Regions from separate parts of the Homo sapiens genome. Here all the other regions are linked to region 1. Evidence: promoter capture Hi-C in 16 types of primary human blood cells and fetal thymus (Javierre and others, 2016). All regions are on one chromosome and are shown on one strand. The core of a region is centred on a gene start or on the middle of the fragment in contact, and the rest is flanking DNA. Distances in the headings are between cores, read along the strand shown.

Region 1 (3,596 bases), core at 818-3,317:
GAGCTATCATTCACTGTGGGGTCACCATTTGCCAGACACTGAGCCAAGCGCTTTCCACACCAACTTATCTAATCCCCAAACAACCCTGGGAGGTAGGGACTTTTATTATCTTCATCTTTCAGACAAAGAAACTGAGGCTCAGAAAGTTATGTGACTCAATAAAAGTCACACAAACAGCAAGAGGCACAGCCAGGCACGAACGTGGGCTTTCTGACTTTTATCCACTGTGCTCCACACCCTATAAACCTAAAAACTTTCAGACACATCTCATTCCCCAGGATTCCCCCACTGTTTAGGGTACAGAATCTAGGGGTCATGGAATCCACAGCACTGGTTAAAATCCCTCAGACTCCTTTCAGACAAAGGAAACAGATGGAATAAAGGGGATGGGAGGAGAAATATAGAAATCTGTCCAAGGCCAGATTCCAGCCAAGATCCTACACTAAAAAATGGCAAGCCTTAGGCAAATCTCATCTGCCTTCAAGTTGGCTTCTCCCTCCACTGTAGGGCTAAGCCACCTGCTTTATATAGTCCACAAAGCCCTTCTGTGAATCAGTCTTTTACAAAGGGAGATATGTACAGCAGTAACTATTGACTAAGACAGAAGGCAGCAAGTTCATTATGAGAAGGACAGACAGAAATGCAGACGGGTCTGGAAAGCGGACCCCTATGGAACACATGGAACTTGAGGTAGCCCTTGACTTCTGGGGGCATTTTACCCAATGGAGCTTGGCGGAGCGTTGATGAAGGAATGGAGTGAGCACACGCACAGAGGCAGGAGCACATTTTAAAACTGAGTTTCCACTGTGCCAGACCCTAGGTGGGTTAGGAGGTGGCAAAGGTAATGGGAGACATGGCTGCTGTGCTGTTCAGAGCTTTGGGAGCCTGCTGAGAAGTCTGGACTGTTCTGGGCAGACGAAGGGCAGCGTCAGGTCTGAGAAAAAAGGAATGCTCCGAGGTGAAGGCAGGGCCTCAAGGCAAATCTGGAGAGTATAAGAGACTAAAGGGAGCGATGGTAACACAGTATCGCACTCAGAGGTTACAGCAAACACAGGGACACAAACTGGAGGAGGACCGACCTGGAACTGCCTGACTTTGGCCAATGAGGCGGCACGATGGAGGGGCACAGAAGAGGACGGTTGCCAAAGATGACCAAGGTTTGGGGGCCGAGAAGTGGAGGCGGAGGAGGAGAGCAGTTTCACTAATACAGCTGGAGAAGTGAGGAGGCAGGGCTTGCTTGAAGGAAGCGCTGGACGCACAGCCTGCAGCGCAGGACAGAGAAGAGACAAAGAACTGGAAAGTGATAAAGTCGTGGGAGGAGGTGAGACTGGAGGGAGAGACGAAGAGGAGCGAGAACTAGCAGAGTCCATGAAGGCACTTTTTCAAAGTTAGGTGGTCACCAAAAAACAGGTAATCAATCCTGTCACCAGCCGCGGGGACAGCGAGGCCTTGGGCTTGGAGGGGGAGGATGCCGACGATGCCGACCGCGCATCAGATCTCGCCGGGAGGAGGGCGCGGGCGCTCCACTTGTTGCAAAGAACGCCGGGTTCCTCTGGGCCATTGGGCTGCCGCTCCGGCGGGGAGCGCGGAAGGCTGGGCCTCAGGTAGCTTCAATCATTCACCTGCTGGTTACGGGTCGCGGCGCCGGGGACCCTACTCCGGACCTCGGCCATGCAACCCGCAGCATACGGAGAACGCTGGGCGCCCGCTCCGCTGCCCCGCTTCCTTCCTGCCCCTGGGCCGCTCCTCTGCACCCCGGGAGCCCTCCCCTGACGCACCCGTCGGTCCCTCGGAAGAGCCCTCTGCCGCGCAGCCCCGACACCCCCCGCCCCGCATCCGCCCAGGCCCCCGGGACCCTGCTCCTCCGCCTCAAACTTCCCTTCCGTCTCTCACAACCTCGTACCTCCTGGTAGGATGTGGAGCGCTCCTGCCGGATCATGGCACTGACCAGAGCTTCGGCACACCTGAGACCGCCCCAGCCCGCGGCGCACGGACGCAGCACTGCGGCCGCTGCACCTGGACCTACCGGCTCCGCGAGGCGAAACCGGTCCGGAGGGGCGTCCCAGAGACCAGGCGTGGCGATACTCGGCGCATGCGCCTGGCCGCTGCCGCCCAGGAGTCGCGAAAGTGTTGATGGGAAATGTAGTTCTGGGCGGGGGCGCCCCTCACACCAGCTCTCACCCCTGTGGCGGAGGCCTGCATGTGACCCTGGGCCAGCTAAGCTGGTCCTTAGACGCGTGCCTCTGCGTCTCTCACTTCCTCTCTTTGTTGGAGGGGGAGGGACGGAGAAGAGGAGTGGAAAGTGGAACAAAGTCAGATGAGTAGGAGCCCCTAATCTATAATTGCAAGAGGAAGCTTGGCCTGGCGGTTTAAAACGGTAATAAATGTCTGGAGAGCACTTTGTATGTTAGTTACAAAGCGCTCTCACTCACATTATGCCGTTGATTCTGCAAGGAACCCTGTAAGAAGGACATTTTTCTCCCTAATTTACAAATGAGGAAACTGAGGTACTTTGTTTCAGAAAGGATGCGGGTGGAGCGGTAATCAAATGAAGATTATTTCATCCAGGGGTAGACTGCGGAGCCCATGTTCTCTCCATTATTCCAGGGGCAGGAGTACCCCTAGGTTCTTGTCCTGGCTCTGACCCTCCCCTTTAGGTCTTGCAATGCTCTGAGCCCTCCTCTCCTCGCCTTAGAATGCAACTGCTAAACCCTGCCCTGCCTGACAAGGCCTATGAAAGCAGAAAGGAAGGATCGTGCAGAGAAAGCCTAAAGCCGCTGTTCAGCCACAGAAGAAGCCTCAAGCGCTAGATGTGGCGTCAAATCTGGTGTTGGCCCTGTGGCAGGGTGGACCTGAAGACCACATCTTCCTCTCCTCCCACTGCCTGAAACAGCTGTTGTGTGAGGGCCCTCGGCTCCTCAGTGGTGAAGCAGATAGAGGCTGCTTGTTGTGCCTTGGTGAATGCTGCTCTGTGTCCCTTGCAGCTGCAGCTTGGTAACCCCTCCACTCAGGCCACTGGGAGCCTCTTCTCTCCTCAGTGATAAGCAGAATAGTGCCAGCCACATCAAAGAACCCTGGACCTCCTGGAGCATTAGCAATGGGAGGTCCCCATCACCTCTCCTGACCACTCACCCCTATCCTAGGCCCTCTGCTCTTAAATCTGTTATATGGGACAATATATATAGTGCCTAACACATTGTAGGCACTCGACAAATGTTTGTTAAATTTATGAATGGAACACTGATTCCAGCCATTTCATTTAACAGTTGCTTACCAAAACAAATTAACAATAGCAGACCACTAATTAAATTCCTTACTGTGTTAATACAATGGTACTTGATAGAACAAGTTCACACCATCATAGAATATTAGAGCTGGAAGGAACCAGAGAATTCTATTCCAACCCTGTCATTCCTCTCTAGTCTTTGTTGGTGTGACCAAACTGGAAAATTATGGGCTCCCACATTTGAAGGAGATACTGGCTAATAAAATATAAAATATGGCTTAACAAATACAATGTGCTGGGCACTGGGATACAGAAATGGATAAGATACCCTTGGGTCCTGGCTTTCGTGGCTCTTTCATGCAACTGTGGA
Region 2 (3,596 bases), core at 514-3,013, 900 kb before region 1:
ACGGCTTGCTCCTTCCCCTGCCCCCAGCCGCCTCAGCCCAGGCCTGAGTCTCTCCCCGTCTGGGCCTCTGCTTCCTGCAGGCACAGCCAGGGCCAAGACGCGCCCCTGGGCCTCCCTCCCCTTCGACGTCTCCACCCGGTATGGAACATTAATCATTAACCGTCCTGTGGCCAGGCCCAGCGGGGCGCCCGCTTCAGCTCTCCCGGTGCCACCTAGCTGAGTCACCGCGGTCTGGGCAGCTCCCCGCAGCCAGGACCTCCCTCCGGGCCGAGGGTCGCGGGGTTCGAGCCGCGGCGAGGTCTTGGGCTTCCCAGGGGCCGCTCCTCGGTGCGCCGCCGCCCACAATCAGCAGGGGGCGCCCGTCCCGACCGCGGGAAGCCGGCGGGGCCACCGAGCGGCGGGCTGGCCTGGCGGGGCGGTGTCAGGGCGGCAAGGCGGCGCCTCCCCAAAGCCGTAAACCTTCCCGCCCGGCTGACTACGCCGGCCCAGCCACGCACGCGCACCCCGCATGCCCCGTGGCCTGTGAGGTTATTCAAGAAGCCAAGGTCGGGAGTGGGGAAGGTCAGCCTCTAGCCCGGCACTGTCTGGAAAAGATCGAACCAATTAATTGACTGTAAGAAGCATGTAACCAATACAATGGAAGGCATTGCTACCCTTCCTCCACCAGGTTCAGGACCTCATGCCCAAGGAACGGCGCGCAGGAATTGGTAGTAGGTTGTGGAGGGTCAGGGGCTCTCCCAGCATCCTGAGGCTGTCTCCTGTGAAGGCCACTCCAGAGGTTAAAGCTTTCCCGGGTGCCAGGAGAGCTCTCCTAATTCAGCCGTAGGGATCACCAGTAAAGATGCTCAAAAATCCCAGCATCTCCCACTTGCAACCCACAGGGGATTCTATTCTACTCTCTCTAATTCCCCATGGCCACATAGTTGAGGTCACTTAACAATTTTTTTTAAAGACGGAGTTTCGCTCTTGTTGCCCAGGCTGGAGTGCAACGGCGCTATCTCGGCTCACCGCAGCCTCCGCCTCCCGGGTTCCAGCGATTCTCCTGCCTCAGCCTCCCCAGTGGCTGGGATTACAGGCATGCACCACCACGCCTGGCTAATTTCGTATTTTTTGTATAGATGGGGTTTCTCCATGTTGGTCAGGCTGGTCTTGAACTCCCGACCTCAGGTGATCCGCCCTCCTCAGCCTCCCAAAATGCTGGGATTACAGGCATGAGCCACCGTGACCGGCCGGTCACTTAACATTTAACCTAACACCCACCTGCCAGCAGGTCAAAGGTTATTGCCTATGACTGGCCAGGTTTCACTTCGGCTGCCGTGGTGCTCCTGATGTGACTGCACTGGGCAGACGGACCTGAAGTACTGTCCCTGTATTAAGTGGAGTGGCCCCGGGAATGAAGCCATAACAGCAGCCAGAGACAGCAGCCCAGATTGGCTGTCTTGACAGCCCAGAGCCAGTGTGGTCAAATCTGCCCCCATGATGCCTGTGTCCTTGCTATTCCCGCCCCAGTCATCCCCCTCTGAACCCCAAGGAGTAGCTGTGAGGGTGCAGGTGGGTGAAAGAGACAGGCAGTGGACATTAGTGCAAGAACTAGGGTCATGGGTTCTGAGTCCAGCTGGTCACTGCATACCTACGTGATGACACATAATTTCTCTGAGTCTCAGTTTCCCCAGCTGTAAACAGCACTAATAGGAACTGTGTGGACTACCTCAAAGGGTTGGTAAAGGGTTCAAATTAGATAACGAATGTTCATCACTAACCCATTCATTCGTTAAATGTTTATTACAAACTTGCCTGAAAGATGATGATCCGTCTTCTCAGTGGCAGCAGAAAAATCATGAAAGACCCTGCCCATGACGCCACCTGTGGTGCACACAGGCTTAGCACCAGCCTTTCTTAAACTGTGTGAGCAGGAGGGCTGCTGCAGAGGAGGAGGGATGCAAGGTGAAGGGGGAGGAGAGGCAGGAACTGCATGGTGGAGGAAGCAGGAAGAAGGGCGAGGCCTCACCCATATGGCCTCAGCAGGCCCTGTGATCTCCCTGTTGAGCCCAGGTTCTCCCAGAAGCTCCCTGGGAATTACTGAGCTGGGTGTGGCTTCCTAGCCCCACACCTGCCCAGCCAGCTCAGGGCCCCTCCGTGCTGTCTTCTCAGGATCCTGCTTCAACCTGCTGCCACTTCCCCATGCCTAGCTCACTGTCACTTTCTCCCTTACCTGCCCTCTCAGCCTCAAACTGATAATTTGGAAAAAGAGGCGCCTGGAAAAAACCACTTCCAGGGTACAGCAGGAACCAGCCTCACTCTTCTTTCTCTCTTTTAAAAATTATTACGATTTTTACTGAGATGGGTTCCAAGTATCACTCTCCACCACCTCATCACCTTCTGGGACCTGGATGGACTCCAGATCACTATGTTGCCTAGGCTGGTCTCAAACTCCTGAGCTCAAGTAATCCTCCGGCCTCGGCCTCCCAAAGTGTTGGGATTACAGGCGTGAGCCACTGTTGCCTGGTCTGGCCTCGCTTTTAATTTTGGCTTCCTGGAGGCTTTTGCTGAGGTAGAGATGCAGGCCACCCTTGCCTGACAATGCCTTCCAGGCAATTGAGTGGCTGAGCCAGTGGGAGAAGGTGGGCTTCTCTCACTCCCAGGTGTGGTGGTAGTGAACCAGCCCAGGTGGTCAACATGAACTGGGAACATGGAAGACAAAGGTAAAAGAGCTGGTAAGGGAAGCAAAGCAGGTTTGGGAATAAAGCTTAAAATCTGGTACAGAGTGGGTTACCATGCCGTCCCTCTGGGGCTGACACATCAGGCGGAAGCCCCCAAATACAGGGTTAGTCTTGTCATGTTACAGTTCTCCCACTGGGCTGAGAACTTCCCAAAGACACAAGCCATGTTTCTTCCTCATCTTATAACTTGTGTAAAAGGCTGGATCCCTTGGAGTACAATCTTCTCACTGGGCACCTGCTGGCCATAGGCCAGCCCGCAGAGAGCAGGGCAAGGGTACGCATGTGCCCCCGAGTGGCTCTCTTAGCCAGGCTGGGCCAAGGTTCACCCATTTCCAAGCTCAGCCTCTGGGCATACCATGTTTGGAGCCCAAGGGCAGTTTTCCATGCAACGAGGCACGTATCACTCTCTACCACCTTGTCACCTTCTGGGACCTGCGTGGACTCCAAATCCCTCTCTCTAGATGTAAAATTGAACCTGGTGGAGGCTCTGCAGCTGATGTGAAACCACCACTTCCTCTCTCCCCAGATGGTTCCAGCCAGAGGCCAGCCAGTCAGCCCTGTTAGGGTGAGCACCTACTGTGTGCAGAGCCAAGTGCTCAGTGTATGATACTCACCTTTTGTTTTGCCTGCCTATTATCCCTTCCCCTTATTCTGGCAAAAGCTTTCCAATTCTTAACCTTCCACTTGTAGTCAGTAAGATTCCCACAGGGCCCATTGCCAGAAGGAAGCCCCTGGGCCAGGCCTGGCCACAAGATATTTTACCCCAGCCTCTGACACTGGTCACAGAGATCATCAGCACCAGGGCTGTAGCTGGAACTAGTGGGAGGAGAAACTCTCTCTACTGGTGGATTACATGAGCCTGGGACTGCTGATGGG
Region 3 (3,596 bases), core at 506-3,005, 720 kb before region 1:
TATTGAGTGAGATTCTCAAAGGGGGGGAATAAGGGAGGAGACCACCGCTCATATTGTCTTATGCCCAATTTCTGCCTCCAAAGAAAGAAAAAGTAAAAACTAAAAGACAGAAATGAAATCCACAAGCAGGCAGCCCGGCGCCACACCCTGGGCCTGGTAGTTAAAAATCGACCCCTGACCTAATTGGTTATGTTATCTATAGATTACAGACATTGGATAGAAAAGCACTGTGAAAATCCCTATCCTGTTTTGTTCCGATGTAATTACCGGTGCATGCAGCCCCCAGACACGTACCCCCCACTTGCTCAATCAATCATGCCCCTCTCATGTGCACCCCCTTAGAGTTGTGAGCCCTTAAAAGGGACAGAAATTGCTCACTCGGGGAGCTCGGCTCTTGAGACAGGAGTCTTGCCAATGCCCCCGGCCGAATAAACCCCTTCCTTCTTTAATTCAGAGTTTGAGGACTTTTGTCTGCGGCTCATCCTGCTACAGCATAAGCCGCCAAGCCCGACCATAAAACATGTTTTAAATTAGAAGATGTTCTTTGCACTTTTGTTTTTCTGGAGGAATGTCATGGTACACAGAGTGAAGACCTAACTTAAGGAGGCCTTGGAGCCTGTCAAGCATACAATGATTCAGGTCTGTACCGGGCTGTGGCACTGCCTTCACTCCCCTCCACCCTGGGCAGAGGCAGAGGGCAGGAGAATCTGGTGAGCTGAGGCCACATGTCCACCTGGTGTGGCTGGTGTGGTCCACACAGCTGGAATGATAAAAGCACCGCACTCATCCGTGCCAGGCCCGGTGCTACTCATGCTTCTCCTTCACTCTTCACCACATTCCCAGGACTGAAGCATTGGTTTATTCCCATTTTCCAAAAAAGGAAACTGAGGCTCATAGTGTTTAAGCCTCAAGCCTCAGGCCACCATGAATACTTCTCATCTGCAAAAGAGAACACCCAAATGTGCCCACCCACCCTACAGATTCTTGGAGGTCTGGCTCACTTATCTCCAAGAAAGCCCCCTCTGGACCATCCAGAAGCCACGAGATGGTAACAGTGCTTCCTCTGCAGGGGCTCTGATCGACCTTGGGTCTGCAAGGGGTAGCAGTCAGGGGTCACCTGAGCCTAGCTCAGTGGGTGTGCTCCTCACACTGCATGACCGCATGCTGTGGGTGGGCCTGTGCACATGTGTGTTTGTGCACACAGAGGAAACGAGTGTAGGCGGGGATCAAGGTCATTTTTACAAACAGAAAAGCTGCAGCATCTCCATAACTCAGCTTGTGGGCTAGACAGTCACCACAGAAAAAAGGAAGCCAGACCAAAACTGAACCACTGGACTACTGCAAGCCCGCCCCAGCAGGGAGCCAGTGCAGGACCCCTGTGAGAAATGGGAACTCTGTACTATCTTTATAGCTTTTCTATAAATCTAAAACTCTTCAAAAATAAAGCATTTATTAACAACAATGACAACAAAAGCATTGACTAAGCTCTGTGAACTGAGAATTTTGTTCTTTACCAAATGGGGATTTCTAACACATCTTTTCAAGTGGTTTGGCAGCATCTTGGAGCTTCCCATTGCTAACAGCGTGCTAATGACAACTGCCCTTAAAGGAGGCCTCCTGCAGAGCGCCCGCTGCCCCCGTGACCCTCCTCCAGCTGTCTGTGAGATAAGAGTAGTGATAACATAGCTGCTCTTGGAGGAGCATTGTGTGACGGCCAAGGCCCAGAGGCCCCGAAGAGGAGGCACTGTTACCATCTCTATTTTACAGATGAGGAAACCCAGGCTCTAGAGGGTGAGAAAATGCCAGAGCTGGACCTACAGTTCTGCCTGATTCCAAAGTTCAAATCTTAACCACTGCTAAAGAAATAAAGCGGTATATATACATATATACATATACACACACACACATACATACATACATACATATGTATATATATATATATACACACACATATACATGCATACATATATATATATATATATATATTTTTTTTTTAATTGAGACACGGTCTCACTCTGTTGCCCAGGCTGGAGTGCAATGGTGCAATCATAGTTCACTGCAGCCTCAAACTCCTATACTCAAGCAATCCTCCCACTTCAGCCTCCTGAATAATTGTGATCACAGGCACACACCACCATGCCCAGCTAACTTTTTATTTTATTTTATTTTTGTAGAGGCAGGCTCTCGTTATGTTGCCCAGGCTGGACTCAAACTCGTGAGCTCAAGCAATGCTTCTACCTTGGCCTCTCAGAGTGCTGGGATTACAGGTGTGAGCCACCATGCCTGGCCTCATATATTTTATAAATATGAAGGCTCTCTGTACCTCATCCCAAAGGGTGTGGTTTATTACCATCTCTCAGGATTTTACACACTCAGGAAACCCACATACTTCGAGTTCTAGGAACCAAACCCATAGGCCAGAATATGGCTGCCCTCCAAAAAGTACTGTGTGCAGTCTTTGTTGTGAAGTGCCTTCTCAGGGTGGCCCCAAGGTTTTCCCAGACTCTTCCATATTGGTGAGGTTCTGTGTGTCTCCAGGGCTGTCAGAGCCCTCATGCCTCAGCCATCCCTGTAAGGGCAGGAGGACAGGCACAGACAGGTAGACACTGACTCCCTTTCTACCTAGGTCACATGGCACATGGCAGGGCAGACAGGACCACATCCAGACCAGGGCTGTGGTCACCAGGGAAGTCCATTAAACCACTGCATTATGTGACATTCTCTAGAAGGCACCTGGGCAGGGAGGCCAGGGCAACTTAGGTTTAGGGCCAGGTTAACTGCCATGGCTTTTGGGGAGAGAAAGTGACCTAAAATATATAGATACAGGAATTTAATACAAATATGACAGCACACACTTGAATATGATTTGTAGGTTCTGACAACTCAGATGAACCTGGCTTTTCATGAAATCAGCGCTAACCAAAGCGGGCATGTATAGCAATGGGAGCCCTTTCCTTCATCCCAACCTAGATCATTCCCTAATCCCTTTTCTATCCCATCCCACTCAGAACTCAGCTCTCAAGAAGCTCAGTTTCATGATGACCTTGAATTTAATCTACCTTCCCTCGGTGCTTTAAGAGTATTTTTTCTACACTAGATTGATTTACAATGCCTTGTTTGTTTCTTTGTAAGCATTCTTGAGCCTTTCTCAGGCGTCTATGTCAAGGCTTTACCTAAACTAATTGTATTGGGCCACAGCTGTGCACAGGGTAACCAAGAATTCTGGTCTCCCTGGGACCATCCCAGGTTTCAAGTCTGGGCAAACCTCTCAGCCCCAAGAAAACCAAGAGGGTTGGTCAGCTTAGCTATGAAGCTCCTCTTCAGAAGCCTTTCCAGCTGGTCATAGCTAGAGCAGTATTGTCAGTAAGTGGTGTAGACCCTCACATGTGGTCCTTGGAGAGCAACAAGGTGTCCCCTGGGAGCTTATTAGACATGCAGACTCTCAGGCCCCACCCGGCCCTGCTCATCAGAATCTGCTCTTCAGCACAGTCCCTGGGGGCTCCTATGCTTGTCACAGTGGAGAACAGCTGTGCTGGTGGGGAGACTTCCTGCTGAGAAACACAGTGTGGATGACATCTGCTTTTGAGGCACACTTC
Region 4 (3,596 bases), core at 562-3,061, 670 kb before region 1:
TTGTGCAGCAGACATTTTCTAAAGAGTGGAAATTAAGGAAATTCCGGTAATTTTCAGATTAGCAGCCCTTGCACCTCCCACTCAGCCTTTTCCCTTCCTTCAACCAGCGATGGAAATCTCACCTAGGAAGCCTTTCAGCCTGTCAAAAAAGAAAAAATGCCTCCTAATTCCTTGTACTAAATTATTCCCTCCCCGCTCCACCCTGGGCTGTAGGTAATGTAATGTCTTTTTTCAGATGTCCTTCACTTTGAATAACAGTCAGAAAATGGCATGAGGTAGGCAGCCTTTTCATAGGCTTGTTAAATGTATTAGACCCCGGTGGAAAGATGGGAGAATAAAGGAGGATCACAGAGCCTCCCTCTCCTAGTGATGACGGTAGAGCACACACCTTTTAAAGTGCCAGTCAAGGAAAGAAACAGAGGCTTCTAAAAGGCTGTGGCTTTTACGCCACCCCCACCTGGAGGAAATACGCCCACCAAGAACATCCTGAGCACTTCACCAATACCTGTCAGTTAGGAAAGCGACTGCCAGAGGGGATGGGCAGGGACGGTACCCAGAGTGGAGGTCCCCACCAGCTTTAGCTTATGTCTTCCAGTGGGCTGCAGGGTTGAGGGGAAAAGCTGGAGCCCATGCCAGGAGCAACCCAGGCAGAGGAAGCCTCACCATGAGGCCCCCCTGGGGTACACTGGCAGACAGACACACACACTGAGCCTTGAGATGTCTGAGGCTGAGGCTGTGGCAGGAGCCCCTGGAAGGAGACACATGTGTCCACTCCCACAGGCCCAGTGCTCCTCCTGCTAATGCAGCTTACAGCAAACCCTCAGATCTTTACTTTCACTTGCTTCTTGTCTGTGGTTTGCAGATTCCTAGTACCTATGCTCTGCCCACCCATGCCTGCCCCTCCTCTCCTCCCACTCTCCCCTAACAGTAAATACCTTTCAAATGAGAAACCCTCTGAGCACCCCTGCTTGCTGGCACCCTCTGTGCTAGAATCTCCTGCTGCAGTCAGACAGGTACCTGGGCGGGGGGTGAAGGGGAGCTGGAGCTGGGCTGGTGAGGTAACCCTGCTGTCCTTCCTCTCCAAGGCCTAATAAAGAGGAAGACAGAGTCTGAGGCAATGCTTCCTGTGACACCAGGTTTCTGCATCCCTCAGACATCGCTCCAATGACAATTTCAATTATTATTCCTGATCGGACATGGCACAGATTCTGAAGGCTGGCTTTCAGTAATCAGCTGTTCCATTTCTCTGCCTCCAAGAAGAAATGCTTTATTAATTCCACATTCATTAACTCATTCATTCCCTTGCTTTTTCTAGCCATCCTTTGGGAAAACAAGGACGGGTCTTCTTTATAATAAGCTAGCCCAGAACCACTCTGAATATCGTAATGCCTGAGCAGCCATCTCCATATCCATGAGTTGCTGTTTATGCCAAGCTTCCCACCAGATGATGGTTTGAAGTATTTCCAAATCTTCTCTAAGAGAACTGTTCCATAACCTCATCATGGCCCTGAAGCCTCTCTCTCTTGGAATTCCCAATTTCTGGTGTTACTCTGAAGTTCCGTGAATGGTGGGCTGGACAGCTTGTTGGATATTTGTCTGGGGAATCAAAGGCTCTTAGGGCCAGATGGGGCTTTGAAACATCACCTGCTTCTCATCTCCTCACCCCCACCCCCAGCAGGGCAGAGTTTCGAATACACACCTGCTAATCCAGCTTTGCCTCGTTTCTTTGTGCTCTACCATGATAACCTCAATAGCCATAAGCAATATCTTATTCTAATCTGCCCACTTCCTTCTGATACCCACTAAGAACTGAGCACCCAGAACTTACCACTGGAAGGTAAAGTGTCAATTCTCAAGATATAAACTTCTGAGACTTCTGCAACTAGAAAGGAGAAAGGTTTTCAAAATTACTTTCAATTTCCTGAAGCATTAGGACACTTTCAATGTAGTTTTATATTTAGAATCATATGAATTATACAGAGAACCGTGGGCTGGTGGACAGCTTCCAAATACTAGAAATTATATTTCCCTCCATTTTGATAATTAGTTCAAGGTCTTCACCACAAGTGACATCATGTCTCAGAAGCAAAAATAGGTCCCTATTAAGCCTATGTAATGTCTTGTCTAGTAGATCTGATTTCCTCTTTATGCCCCCGTCTCCTCACCTTCCTAATTGGCGCTCCAACCTCAAAGCTTTTTCTCACTGCTGTCTGGAGCCTTAGATATATTAAATATAGTCTGACTGTGTGGGGTTAGGGACTTGGCTATGCTGATTGCATGTGTCTAACTTAAAAACCAAGAGACCTAGGGCATGATAACAGCTCATTGCAGCCTCAATTCTCTCAGGCTCCAGTGATCCTCCTACTTCAGCTTCTCGAGTAGCTGGGACCACAGGTACACACCACCATGCCTGGCTAATTTTTTTTTTTTTTTAAGTAGACACGGGGTTTCACCATGTTGGCCAGGCTGATCTCCTGTCAGCCTGGTGTCAAACTCCTGGGCTCAAGTGATCCTCCTGCCTTGGCCTCCCAAAGTGCTGGGGTTATAGGCATGAGCCACTGCATTGGGTATGCATGGAACACATCACTTGCAGTTTAGGCACATCTCAATATGAGAATAACTTACATCCTCTGTTAAACCCAGTTGGGGTGAGATAAACACAGCCTCCTTACTGCACATTCAGTACAATGTGCCAGTGTCTTATGTGCTTCCTGTATATAATCTCACTTAATACTGAAAAGAAGTCTTGGCCAGGCATGGTGGCTCACGCCTGTAATCCTAGCACTTTGTGAGGCCAAGGTGGGCGGATCATGAGGTCAGGAGTTCAAGACCAGCCTGGCCAACATGGTGAAACCCCGTCTCTAATAAAAATACAAAAATTAGCCAGGTGTGGTGGTGCACACCTGAAGTCCCAGCTACTCAGGAGGCTGAGGCAGGAGAATCACTGAACCGGGACCCGGGAGGCAGAGGTTGCAGTGAGCCGAGATCACGCGGCTGCACTCTGGGCTGCAGAGTGAGACTCCGTCTCAGAAAAAAAAAAAAAAAGAAGTCTTTGAGCGTTTCCCATTTAACACATAAGGAGAGTGAGGTTGAGAGGATAAGAAACTTGCCAAAGGGCCAAGGTCGAATTGAAGTCCCCGGTTCTGCTGCTCCTGGGCTCCTACTTGGACAAGCCCTTAACACTTGATGGCGCCATGACAGAGGGATATTCGGGCACTAGTGGCCATCGTGGCCTAGAATTTATTACCTACTCTAGTTCCACACTAGAATTCAGAAAAGAAAGAAACTATTATGAGATTGAAATCTGTATCCCCTTTGGTCTAACATAAAAATGTTCTTTTTATCTTCTACTATATAGGGCAAAATTTTTAAAATGCACTTCACTTCCACATCCAAAAAAAAAAAATAATTAATTTCAGGGCTTTTTTCATGGTTAATTGTATCTCTGCAGCAGCTGAGAGGAACATTAATAAAAATTATCTTTTGGGGTTTTGGGATTATTAAAATTGAGGATAAGGATGTTATGGAAGCTTTAGCTTCTAGATCCATCGCCCTTTTAACAAATATACTTGTTCCTTTAGATTTCACTCTTATTT
Region 5 (3,596 bases), core at 283-2,782, 600 kb after region 1:
GGTTTCGAACTCCTGACCTCAAGTGATTCGCCCGCCTCGGCCTCCCAAAGTGCTGGGATTACAGGAGTGAGCTACCGCGCCCGGCAGAAATAAACAGAGCAGTGAAAATTTTTAATTGCCCAAAGTGCAGATTCCCAGCTGAGGCTGAACAACGCATCCTCTGGGTGCCCATGGAACTGAGGTACCACAGAATTTTGCAATTAATGTTGCGGAAGCACAGCCATAGCTCTCACTTTAAAATGTACGTGTATGGGCCGGGCGCGGTGGCTCACGCCTGTAATCCCAGCACTCTGGGAGGCCAAGGCGGGCGGATCACGAGGTCAGGAGATCGAGACCATCCTGGCTAACACGGTGAAACCCCGTCTCTACTAAACATACAAAGAATTAGCCGGGCGTGGTGGCGGGCGCCTGTGGTCCCAGCTACTCGGGAGCCTGAGGCAGGAGAATGGCGTGAACCTGGGAGGCAGAGCTTGCAGTGAGCAGAGATCGAGCCACTGCACTCCAGCCTGGGCGACAGAGCGAGACTCCGTCTCAAAAAAAAAAAAAAAAAAAAAAAAAGTACTTGTATGTCTTGTGTGTCCACCTTTATTAAATGTATTATAGGACTGTAGATTGTTGAAAGACATTATTTAAGTGGAGACCCTGCAAGAAACAGGAAGAGAGAAACCGAGAAAGAATAAAGTGTGGAGAGTAGAGGGGAAAAGGATACTAGAAGGCAGGAGCACTGCTTTTATAGGCTCTTTGAAACAGTGGTAATTTCTTGGGAAGGCTTTTCTTATCCCTGGTGCATAAAAGGAAGTAAAGTGTATTTGAAAAAAACCTTTCCCTCAGTATGTAATTGATTCTTGTTATTTGCAGTAGTTAGGTTCTGTAAAGTTGCTGGAAACACTGAATTAGTAAATACTGAATCATTACTCCTAAGGGAAATACAGGATTAGGATCCTGTAAGCCTCTGGTCGCATTTTCATCAACTTAATCAATACATAGTTTTGTTGTATGTGTGTTTCCGCTTAAAGACATCTTATTTAATATATATTGTTGATTCATTAACATTGAACTCAGTCAACAGCACTATAATTCATACCTCAACAAAGCTTATCTAACACTGCTATTTTCTCTGCAAGGCTCATGACAGCCTTCTTGTGCTTAGGAGCACTATACAGCACAACGCTTGGGGACCATTTTAAACAGCAACATCAACAAAAAGTACAAAAACGTGAAAAACATATCACTAAATGGAATGTGAAAAGGACACTTGGTCCTGATGGCTCACGCCTGTAATCCCAGCAATATGGGAGGCCAAGGCGGCTGGATCGCTTCAGCCAGGGAGTTCAAGACCACACTGGACAACATGGCGAAACCCCGTCCCTACAAAAAATACAAAAATTAGCCGGGCATGGTGGCTCTCGTCTGTAGTCCCAGCTACTCCAGAATTTGAGGTGAAAGGATTACTTTAGCCCGAGAGGGCGAGGCTGCAGTGAACCAAGATAGTGTCACTGTACTCCAGCCCTGGCAACAAGGGGACACTATGGTATAGCATGAGAGCTGAAACAAAAAGGCAGAGAATGCCTTGTTTAGCCTCAGCTGGGAATGTGCACTTTGGGCAATTAAAAATTTTCCCTGCTCTGTACATGTCCAAGAATACATGGAGGTTACAGATCAATTTTAGCAAGTAGGCAAATTTGCAAATATGGAATCCACAAATAATGGAGAAAGACTGTATTTCTGTTTTATACTGCCCTATTTTCTAGTTGTACTCACAATTTTGTAGTTCATTAAATTGACTAGTAGTTTACTGTATGTCTTGTCTTTATAATGAGATTGTAAATAACTTCTGAGGAAAGACCATGACTCATTATTTCCAAAATTTACTTGACCTAGTGCTGTGCTAAGTACACAATATATAGTAGTAAAAATATTTTTGAATGAATGGTTAACAGTGGGCCAGAACTTGGGACTTGTGAATGACCAGAAGCTTTTTCCTTTAGCACACCCTAAGAGGTAAGGAGAAATGTAACATTTTTAAATAAGTAAAAGAAATTAATAGATATCTTTTCATGCAGTGTTGGAATTTGGGGGTTTATCTGATCCTAAAAGATATTTGCCTTTATCTGGGCCTAGACTATTGCAAAGATTAAAGTTAACTTGCAGGGCGCTTGTGGCAGTGCAAATGATTTTTGTCTATGGACTTGTAAAATAATTCTACCTAGTTGGGGGGAGAACTCTCCATCTCTATGGAAAAGCCAGTTTTGGCTGCCTGCAGTGGCTCACACCTGTAATCCTAGCACTTTGAAAGGCTGAGGCGGGAGGATCACGAGGTCAGAAGTTCGAGACCAGCCTGACCAACATGGTGAAATCCGTTCTCTACTAAAAATACAAAAATTAGCAGGTGTGGTGGCATGCCTGTAATCTCAGCTACTCAGGAGGCTGAGGCAGGAGAATCGCTTGAACCTGGGAGATGGAGGTTGTAGTGAGCCGAGATCGCGCCACTGCACTCCAGCCTGGGCGACACAGCGAGACTCCATCGCAAATAATAATAATAATAATAATAATAATAATAATAAATTAAACAACAACAACAACAAAAAAGCCAGTTTTGCACCATTTGCAAGATCAATATTTCTGATCTATAAACATGTCTGCTCTTTGGATTCTCCTTTGAACAGGTGATAACATCTGTCTGGTTCACCTATGTAATGAGTTAAATAAAATGGCTGGGTGCAGGGGCTCACGCCTGTAATCCCAGCACTTTGGAAGGCCAAGGCAGGCGGATCACTTGAGGTTAGGAGTTCAAGACTAGCCTGGCCAACATGGTGAAACCCCGTCTCTACTAAAAATAGACAAAAATTAGCTGGGTGTGGTGGCTCATGCCTGTAATCCCAGCTACTTGGGAGACTGAGGCATGAGAATCGCTTAAATCCAGAAGGCGGAAGTTGCAGTGAGTCAAGATCGCACCACTGCACTCCACCTTGGGTGACAGAGTGAGACTCCGTTTCAAAATAAATAAAATAAAATGACTAATGTGTTCGTATTATATCTGTTTGAGAGTCATGATTTTACCTTTTTTTTTTTTTTTGGAAAATTATCTTTTAAAAGTTCAGTAGTTCCCACCAAGATGCCCAATGTATTCATCTGACAGAGGCAGGTGAATTTTATCACTGTAAAAGTACACTTCATGGATTGCCTGAGTTCTGGCAATTTTCTTGCTCCCAGAGATAAATCTAAAATGGCAAAAGCATGTTGCTGAGTCTTTGTTTTTCTAATTTTTATTTTCTTCTCCAGTAATTGTGTGTTTTTCTTTGGTTTGTAGAAGCATATCTTGTGTTATTGTGCTTCACTTTATTATGCTTCACAGATACTCTGTTTTTTGCAAATTGAAGATTTGTGGCAACCCTCCCTTTTGCAATTCTATTGATAACGATTTTTCCAACAGCATGTGCTCACTTTCTTTCTCTGTATAACATTTTGGTTATTCTCGCATATTTCAAACATTTTCATCATTCTTATATCTATTATGGTGATCTGTGATCAGCGGTCGTTGATGTTACTATTGTAATTGTTTTGGGGCACCACAAACTGCACCCATTCAAGATGGC
Region 6 (3,596 bases), core at 595-3,094, 580 kb after region 1:
CTAAACAATGGCTGGTTGGATACCTGTGAATGACCCAAGGCTTTCTAAGATAAACTATTTAGAACTCAATAGAGGGGTCTCCTAATGAAATCAAGCCTTCTGGAAAGGAAACAACTTGTAGTTTGCAAGAACTCAAAGATACTTTGGATCCACTACAGAGCTTGCCAAAATTATGAAATGAAATTTTTTACTAAGCAGACAAAGGAAGATGCATTATATTTAAAAATCACTGTCAATTTTACTAGGATTTAGAATATAAAACCTTTACATCTCTTTTACAATAAAGAGAATTTAGAGCTCACTTGTCACGAAAATATTTTTCATTATTAAAAAAAATTGTTATAAAGTTATTTCTTCTGATATGGAGTTTCAAAGCATCTAACATAACCGCTTCAGAATCTCCACAGTGCAAAAATAAACAACATGCATACACTTAAGAACTTTACATTCTTTGAAAAACAATACAAATTGGAAAGAAAATTAGTATGTGATCAAAGAGAGTCAGAGCTCAAGTCTGAACTTTGCCAATAAAGGCAGATGATCTGAAGAGTTATTTTCGTTTGGAAGTCCATTAACAGTCCATAAGTCTTGTTCTGTAAGAAGTGACAGTCTAGCTAGAAGTTTCAAGCCACCAACCAAAGCAACTTCAGCTCCTACATTAAAGAAGCACACACATATTTAGTAAAATTGTCAACGGGTTATTGTAAATTAATCATACAAGTCTTTTCTCCAAACAAATATAGAACTTGAGGCCCCTCCAGAAGACTAAAAACTATGACACAGTTTTTAGAATATCTAAGCTTTATTGAATTATAACCTAATTATAATTATCAAACACACAGCAGTTTGAGATATTTTTTCTATTTCCAGCTCTGTAAACAATCTTTAGAAGAAAATATAAATGAAATACTTAAGAATGTTAAGGGTAATTTGTGGTTGACAACTACATAAGAAACTCATCCAGCAACCATTCTGTAGTTGCATAAAGCCAGAGACACCGGGCCACAGCCCTGTAGCAGTTTATAAGGTGAATGGAGAATAAATTAGTATAATTTAGTCCCAGATAGTCAGCACCCACAGAAGTGAAGATGACATGCTCTTTTTGAAATGCTGATCCATAACACTCTCCTGCCACCAAGTGAACTTCTGTCAGCATGACAACTACGAAAACCTTACTATAAATTCAAAGCAGCAGGCATATTTTTTGTAGAGTAGATCTAGTGGCAGGAATAAGTCATCTCGTGAGTGTTACTAATAAGGTTATTCCCAGAAGAAAGGAGGGGGGAACAAACAGAGGGGAAAAGGGTAAAGAAAAAGAAGCATCCAAAAAAATGGAAGAGAAAAAAATGAAAAAAATCAGAAAAGAATAAAACAGCTGCTCACATTCCAAAGTTTTCTTAAAGGTATTTTTGTACTTCCAGTAATCTTAAACTGCATTTTCTTCTCCACTTTAAATCCTTTGGCTAATGTTTAAAACCTGATTTTCGGCCGGGCACAGTGGCTCACGCCTGTAATCCCAGCACTTTGGGAGGCCGAGGCAGGCAGATCATGAGGTCAGGAGATCGAGACCATCCTGGCCAACACGGTGAAATCCCGTCTCTACTAAAAATACAAAAAATTAGCCGGGCATGGTGGCGGGCGCCTGTAGTCCCAGTGGCTCGGGAGGCTGAGGCAGGAGAATGGTGTGAACCTGGGAGGCGGAGCTTGCAGTGAGCTGAGATAGCGCCACTGCACTCCAGCCTGGGCGACGAGCGAGACTCCGTCTCAAAAACAAACAAACAAAAAAATTATATAGACTTTTCTGACCGAATGTGGTGGCTCATGCCTGTAATCCAAGCCACCCTGGGAGGCCGAGGTGGACGGCTTGAGCCCAGGAGTTTGAGACCAGCCTGGGCAACACGGTGAAACCCTGTCTCTACAAAAAATACAAAAATTAGGTGGGCATGGTGGCTCATGCCTGTAGTCTTAGCTACTCGGGAAGCTGAGGTGGGAAGGTCACTTGAACCCGGGAGACAGAGGTTGCAGTAAGCCGAGAATCATGCCACTGCACTCTAGCCTGGGTAACAGAGCGAGACTCTGTATCCAAAAAAAAAAAAAAAAAATATATATATATATATATATATATATATATACTTTTCCTCCTCAGAAAAATCCAATATTCCAGAGTCAACATGACAGCATAAGCTGTGTTGCTGGCAGTGTAACTATGGTCCTCCAATGAAGGCAGGACGCCTCGGTAAAATTTAAGCACAAAACTATGATGACCATTAACAACATACTCAGTTCCTGTCACAGGAAAAACAGTAAATTTATGGCAAGCAAAAAGAAAGGGCAATATGAAAGACCTATAACTCAGAGGCTGACTGGAACTGGAGGGTAGGACTGCTAATGTAATTCTTGGGTAATAATTTGCTTGGATGTGTTTTATTGCCTCCCTCATATGCAAGTAATCAACTGATTTATTCAAATATATTACCAATCTGTCTATTTCGAAATATTTTTACCTTCTAGATCTAGAACTTCAACTGGATGTTTAGAGAGCTTTCTTAACTTTAACCTTGAGGTTTTAGCTACTGTGCTCTCTAGGAGAATTTAAGATTACATGCATTCCTTACCTGGGTGCCCAGCAACATCTTCCTTTTCTGCAGAGTAGAAAATATAATCCACAGTTATGGCACTTCGGGAATGACAGGTGGTCACTTCTGGAATTCCAGTGTCAGGAAAGTAATGTGAATAAACAGATGACAAACTGAAATGGTGCTGTAAATTTGAAGACAATCTAAATAGAAAAGAAGAAGTGTTTAGAATCCGAGTTTTTGTAACTTCAAGAATTCCTCCTATCTGAATTTCTTTTTCACTTAATTTCTAGACTAAGACCAAACATTAGGACAAGCTTTATTTAAAAAGACCATATCATAATTTAGTATTAATTTACTTATGCAGTGATATCTAAAACCCATCAATAAAGCCATTATAAATGTGGTTTTTAAAAAAAGCTCAATAATTAACATACTAATGTGTTTTTTCATTATTTATAACGTGTGAATGCCTCCACTTACTAAAGAACATGTATTCTAACAAGTTTTATTGTGTTTTTAAGAAAGAGAATCAAGGGGGTCTTCAGGAACACTATTTGGAATCCTCTAGACTTTTGATGACAGAGAGGCCATATTCTTCTCTAATTTTTCTTGCTATCACATATAATTTTGTACTGCATCTTAAAACAGCTTCTCTAATGGTTTATTATATTTGCCCCATGCACAAATATATGTGATGTTATGAGTAAAAGGTTTAAAGACTATTTTCTAGTGATACTTTATGAATCTTAAGGATCTTTTATGCCTTGAAGGAAAATAAAATTAAAAAAGAAACTTATCCAACAAACATTTACCAAACATCTTCTAAGTTCTAGGCAATATGTCAGGTGCTGAGAATACATAGATGAAGATGTTTCCCTTGCTTTTAAAGTGTTCATATGTCAGGAACAAAGGTAAATCCTTAAAAATGCCCTCTAAGTTTTATTAGCAACTTTTTATGTCTAAGGATTTATAATATTAAACATAAAATAGGGCCGGACGCGGTGGCTCACACCTGTA

Evidence for each region. Contacts are between HindIII fragments. The CHiCAGO score rates a contact against its expected background, and 5 or more counts as called.
Region 2: a fragment that was not itself captured here is called in contact with the fragment with the promoter of PACC1 in region 1 in 1 of 17 cell types (naive B cells); the score reaches 5.2 in naive B cells.
Region 3: a fragment that was not itself captured here is called in contact with the fragment with the promoter of PACC1 in region 1 in 1 of 17 cell types (total B cells); the score reaches 5.9 in total B cells.
Region 4: a fragment that was not itself captured here is called in contact with the fragment with the promoter of PACC1 in region 1 in 1 of 17 cell types (fetal thymus); the score reaches 5.3 in fetal thymus.
Region 5: a contact is called between a fragment that was not itself captured here and the fragment with the promoter of PACC1 in region 1, in 1 of 17 cell types (fetal thymus). The highest score is 7.0, in fetal thymus.
Region 6: a fragment that was not itself captured here is called in contact with the fragment with the promoter of PACC1 in region 1 in 4 of 17 cell types (fetal thymus, monocytes, total CD8 T cells and 1 more); the score reaches 8.1 in fetal thymus.

What each region holds. Positions count from the first base shown.
Region 1 is chr1:212,412,819-212,416,414 of GRCh38, forward strand. PACC1 (proton activated chloride channel 1) reads right to left here and starts at 2,068. Exons shown (of 8, transcript NM_018252.3): 1 at 1,904-2,068. The coding sequence starts at 1,939. RefSeq lists a silencer at 1,720-1,779. The HindIII fragment of the contact is 5,506 bases long and covers 1-2,353 here.
Region 2 is chr1:211,515,247-211,518,842 of GRCh38, forward strand. No RefSeq gene overlaps it. Among named protein-coding and RNA genes, the nearest start is that of RD3, 25 kb to the left of the region's middle. RefSeq lists a silencer at 82-441. The HindIII fragment of the contact is 1,961 bases long and covers 784-2,744 here.
Region 3 is chr1:211,694,091-211,697,686 of GRCh38, forward strand. No RefSeq gene overlaps it. Among named protein-coding and RNA genes, the nearest start is that of NEK2-DT, 20 kb to the left of the region's middle. RefSeq lists an enhancer at 1,169-1,668. The HindIII fragment of the contact is 3,743 bases long and covers 1-3,596 here.
Region 4 is chr1:211,738,130-211,741,725 of GRCh38, forward strand. No RefSeq gene overlaps it. Among named protein-coding and RNA genes, the nearest start is that of NEK2-DT, 64 kb to the left of the region's middle. The HindIII fragment of the contact is 760 bases long and covers 1,432-2,191 here.
Region 5 is chr1:213,016,222-213,019,817 of GRCh38, forward strand. No RefSeq gene overlaps it. Among named protein-coding and RNA genes, the nearest start is that of ANGEL2, 2.2 kb to the left of the region's middle. The HindIII fragment of the contact is 881 bases long and covers 1,093-1,973 here.
Region 6 is chr1:212,994,540-212,998,135 of GRCh38, forward strand. ANGEL2 (angel homolog 2) reads right to left here. Exons shown (of 9, transcript NM_144567.5): 8 at 2,616-2,779; 9 at 1-653. The coding sequence ends at 502. Among named protein-coding and RNA genes, the nearest start is that of ANGEL2, 20 kb to the right of the region's middle. The HindIII fragment of the contact is 2,093 bases long and covers 799-2,891 here.